Regions from separate parts of the Homo sapiens genome. Here region 2 is linked to region 1. Evidence: promoter capture Hi-C in human tissues and cell types (Jung and others, 2019). All regions are on one chromosome and are shown on one strand. The core of a region is centred on a gene start or on the middle of the fragment in contact, and the rest is flanking DNA. Distances in the headings are between cores, read along the strand shown.

Region 1 (2,700 bases), core at 157-2,656:
GCAAAGCTTTCTCAGGAAAGAGCACCACACAGCATCCCCTTTCCTCTCCCTGGAAACAGCGTTAACCAGGCCGGCAGCCTCAAAGCGCGCTTCCTGGATCCTTTGACCAGGATGCGCCAGGGGCCTGGGCTCCCGCTGGACACTGGCGCGCTCAGACTTTGAATAGGGCGTCAGGCGAAGAATGGCCAAACCCAGGGCAATTTCCGGGGTGGGGGGGGGGGGGCGCTTAGACTGCTGGTAAACTGTACCACGTCCACTCACCACCACCCAAGCCCTCCAACCCACAGCCAGGCCCGCCGCACTTAGGACTTGAAGTTTCAATGCTCCCTGCAAGGTGGGGCCATCCGGGCAGCGGCGAAATACAGGTTTTGGGCGGGGGCAGCCACAGCACCCAACCCTCTTGCAAAGCTGTGCCTCCCGAATTAGGGACAAACTCCCTGGGATTTGTTTTCTGCGGGAGAAAAGGCGGAGGGATGTGGGGGGAGTAAGGTGTGGTGGCGATTCGTGGAGGGCAAGGGTAAGGGGCAGTTACAGCCACATCTCTGCCCTGGACAGAGCCGGGTCCAGGGGCCGCGGGCCTGCCCGCCGCTCGGTTGTCAGCATCTCCTGTAGCCGGCGCGCACACTGCGCGCAAACACGCCCCCCAAAATCCCCACAACCTGTCAAACGGGCCCTACAGCTCGGAGCCTCCTGGCAGGAGGGAGAAACTTGTACCCAGACTCGCCAGCAGCCAGAATGCTGCTGTTTGCCTATGAGAACAATTTTTAAAGCGGAAATAATCATGATAATGAAATAAAAGGATCAAAAGCATCTTGACTTTTTCTGAGCCTTTGGGAAAAATAAAATTGTTGTTTTCTACCAGCCCGCGAATATTCCCAGTCGCCCGTGGCGACGCGGGGGTGGGGTCGGCGCTCAAGGCAGAAAGCGCGAGGCAGGTGCCCAGGAGAGCCGCGCAGAAGGGGACTGACTGGGGGGCCCTGGTCCCCGACGCCATTTGAGGGGCAGCGGCGCCCGCCTTACCTGTGGATGCAGTTTCCATGGCAACGGGCGACTGCCGGGCGGGGCCCGAGCCGGCTTCCCGCGACGCCGCTTCCCGGGCCCTGGCGCCCAACCCCGGGCTGGGCTCCCCAGCCTGCGGCGCCGGCGTGGCCCCTTTCGGCGTCACCGCTTCGTTCTCCCCCTCCCCCCGGTGCCTGAGCCACTGGGACCCGGGGCCGGCCAGCGGCAGCAGCTCGTCCTGCGGATCCCCCGGCGCGGCCATGGCTGGCGGTCCCCCGGCGCGGCGACGGCGGCTTGGCTGGGCAGAGGCTCGGTGGCTGCGCGGGCGCTCCCTGCTGCTGTCCCCGGAGGGACTCGGCGCTCAGGGAAGCTGCGGTGTCTCAGCGTCGCCGCCGCCTCTGCTGCAACTCCGCCGAGCCGCTGCCTGCCGCTCTTCCCGCTTCAGCTCCTCCTTCTCCCCCCTCCTCTTCCTCCGGCCCCGCCGCGGCCGCTGCCTGCGCTCCTCCTCCTACTCCACTCGCTGCTGCCGCCGCTGCTTCGCTATTCCCAATCCTGTTATTACGCAGGTGAAAATGGCCTGCTTGGTCCGGGTCCTCCTGGGCACGTCAGCCCCCAACCTGCAAATGGCAGGCCCCGGTTAGGGGATGTGCCAAATCCACTCGAATCTTCCTCTCGTTTGGGGAGGAAAAAAAAGGAAGAACCAGCAAGTAGCAGCAGCCACCAGCAGCGTCGCCTTCCCAACTGAGAAAGTTAAGCCCCGACTGGTGTCCTGGGTCCCGAGGCAAAGAGGGAAAGCTAGAGAACTCAGGGCCACAGTTCTGAGAGTGACCAGTATGAGTTGTGGAGGGGACACAGGTCTGAACGGGGAAGGGGTGGAGATGGGTTCTGATGGCAGATGGAGACCAGGGAAGCTGCAACCCCGCGGTTAAATCCTGCGTTTCCAGAATGGGCCTGAAAATAGTGGAGTAAAGAAATGAGTTATCAGGACAGCCTCCAAAAAAAGCTTAACAGATCTCACCCTGACCAGCCCTGAGGGCAAACAGGGTGTCAATAGGCAAGGACAAAAGCTGTACATTTGCTTTCAGAAACACTGAGCCAAGGCCATCCTAATCATAAGCTGTCTGTGCAGTCCGTTGTATTTCAGAATTTGGACATTCCATGAAGCTTGCATCTTTTTCTTTACAGTTCACTGTGATAAAATGGAAGATAGTCAGCAAATAAACCCAAACTCAGAGGAGGAAAGTGACTTGCCTTATCATATGTTGTGCCCATACGAAGACCCATCTTTTCAAATGTCTTGTGTTTTATTGGTTCCCAAGTTGTTTATATAATAAAATAATGTGCCTTTAAAAACTAAGATTCACCACAACACACAGGGTGAAGGAATAGGTTTTTCTGCTGTTTCTTCTCTAGGAAAGGTGGGCGCAGACGGTACCGCACACACTGTGAGACTGTGGGACTCTTGGCCACCATGCGCATCTTGAGGATTTCATACCTGTCCATTGGTATATTCAAAGGCCAACTTCAGGACCATTCAGGTGCTCCTCAATAATGCTAAAATGAAAAAGCCCAGAGTCTGCCTAATCTTTTGTTCTGCTAGTGCACTAATGTTCAAAAGATGACAATAAATTAGAGAAAAATCATTCACTAAACAATAAATATGGCCTCCTGAAGCCAGATATCCCTGGAAATCTGATGGTC
Region 2 (2,700 bases), core at 100-2,599, 130 kb before region 1:
AGTGTTAAGAGGGAAATTTATAGCATTAAATGCCCACATTAAAAAGCTAGAAAGATCTTAAGTTAACAACCTAACATCACAACTAAAAGAACTAGAGAACCAAGAGCAAACAAACCCCAAAGCTAGCAGAAGACAAGAACAAAGATGAACTGAAGGAGACAGAGACATGAAAAACCCTTTAAAAATAAACAAATCTAGGAGCTGTTTTTTTAAAAAATAATTTTAAAAATCAACCATTAGCTAGACTAATACAGAAGAAAAGAGAAGAATCAAATAAACACAATCAGAAATGATAAGGGAGATATCACCACTGACCCCACAGAAATACAAACAATGATCAGAGAATACTATAAACACCTCTATGCATATAAACTAGAAAATCTAGAAGAAATGGATAAATTCCTGGAGACATACACCCTGCAAAGACTCAACCAGGAAGAAACTGAATCCCTAAATAGACCAATAACAAGTTCTGAAATTGAGACAACAATAAATAGCCTACCAACCAAACAAAAGCCCAGGACCAGGGACATTTACAGCTGAATTCTACCAGAGGTATAAAGAAGAGCTGGTACCATTTCTATTGAAACTATTCCAGAAAAATTGAAAAGGAGGGACTCCTCCCTAACTCATTCTATGAGGCCAGCATCATCCTGATACCAAAACCTGGAAAAGATACAACAAAAAAATAAAACTTCAGGCCAATATTGTTGATGAACACTGATGCAATAATCCTCAATAAAATACTGGCAAACTGAATCCAGCAGCACATCAAAAAGTTTATCCACCACAATCAAGTAGGTTTACAACTTTGGTTCAACATATGCAAATCAAAACATGTGATTAATCACATAAGCAGATCTAAAGACAAAACCACATGATTATCTCAATAGATGCAGAAAAGGTCTTCAATAAAATTCAACATTCCTTCATATTAAAAACTGTCAATAAACTGGGTTTTGAAGGAACATACCTCAAAATAATATGAGCCATATATGACAAACCCACTGCCAATATCATACTAAATAGGCAAAAGCTGGAAGCATTCCTATTAAAAAGCAGCACAAGACAAGGATGCCCTCTCTCACCACTCCTATTCAACACAGTATTGGAAGTTCTGGCCAGGGCAATCAGGCAAGAGAAAGAAATAAATTGTTTTCAGATAGGAAGCGAGGAAATCTAACTATCTTTGTTTGCAGATGACATGATCCTATATCTAGAAAATCCCATTTTCTCAGTCCAATAGCTTCTTAAGCTGATAAGCAACTTCAGCAAAGTCTCAGGATATAAAATCAATGTGTGAAAATTGCTAGCATTCCTATACAGCAACAACAGGCAAGCAGAGAGCCAAATCATGAATGAATTCCCACTCACAATTGCCACAAAAATAAAATACCTAGGAATACAGCTAACAAGGGATGTGAAGGACCTCTTCAAGGGGAACTACAAACAACTGCCCAAAGAAATCAGAGATGACACAAAGAAATGGAAAAACATTCCATGCTCATGGATATGAAGAATCAATATCATGAAAATGGCCATACTCCCCAAAACAACTTATAGATTCAACATTATTCCCATTAAACTACCATTGACATTCCTCACAGAATTAGAAAAAACTATTTTAAAATTCATTTGGAACCAAAAGAGAGCCAGAATAGCCAAGACAATCCTAAGACAAAGAACAAAGCTGGAGGCATTATGCTACTTGACTTCAAACTACACTACAAGGCTACAGTAACCAGAACAGTATGGTACTGGTACAAGAACAGACACATAGACCAATGGACCAGCATAAAGAAACCAGTAATAAGACCACATACCTACAACCATCTGATCTTTGACTAACCTTACAAAAACAAGCAATGGGGAAAGAATTCCCTATGTAATAAATGGTGCTGGGATAACTGGCTAGCAATATACAGAAAATGGAAACTGGACCCCTTCCTTACACATGTACAAAAATCAACTAAAGATGGATTAAAGACTTAAATGTAAAACCCAAAACTATAAAAACCCTAGAAGAAAATCTAGGCAATACCATTCAGGACATAGGCATGGGCAAAGATTTCATTACAAAGACACCAACAGCAATTGCAACAAAAGCTCAAACTGACAAATGGGATCTAATTAACTAAAAGCTTCTGCACAGCAAAAGAAACTATCATCAGAGTGAACAGAACAGAATGGGAGAAAATATTTGCAATCTATGCATCTGACAAAGGTCTAATATCCAGCATCTACAAAGAACTTAAACAATTTACAAGAAAAAAAATAAACAACCTCATTAAAAATTGGGCAAAGGACATGAAAAGACACTTCTCAAAAGAAGATATACATGCAGACAACAAACATGAATAAAAGCTCAACAGCACTTATAATTAGATAAATATAAATCAAAACTATAATGAGGTACAATCTTACAAAATCAGAATGGCTATTACCAAAAAGTCAAAAAACAACAAATGCTGGCAAGGTTGTGGAGAAAAAGGAATGCTTTTACATTGTTAGTGGAAGTGTAAATTAGTTCAACCATTGTGGAAAACAGTGTGGCAATTCCTCAAAGACCTAGAGGCAGAAATACAATTTGACCCAGCAATCCCATTACTGGGTATATACCCAAAGGAATAGGAATCATCCTATCATAAAGATACAGGCACATGTATGTTTATTGCAGCACTATTTACAATAGCGAAGACA

The links. The method cuts DNA at HindIII sites, captures the fragments that hold promoters and counts their contacts. A contact is called where the count stands out against the background at its distance.
Region 2: a contact is called between a fragment that was not itself captured here and the fragment with the promoter of RTN1 in region 1, in 3 of the 25 tissues and cell types used here (H1 embryonic stem cells, liver and mesendoderm cells).

The regions. Positions count from the first base shown.
Region 1 is chr14:59,869,370-59,872,069 of GRCh38, forward strand. It overlaps RTN1 (reticulon 1), which reads right to left and starts at 1,407. Exons shown (of 9, transcript NM_021136.3): 1 at 1,021-1,407. The coding sequence starts at 1,261. RefSeq lists a silencer at 1,316-1,415. The HindIII fragment of the contact is 4,177 bases long and covers 1-2,573 here.
Region 2 is chr14:59,736,040-59,738,739 of GRCh38, forward strand. All of the region lies in intron 2 of RTN1 (reticulon 1), which reads right to left. Among named protein-coding and RNA genes, the nearest start is that of MIR5586, 90 kb to the left of the region's middle. The HindIII fragment of the contact is 6,932 bases long and covers 1-2,700 here.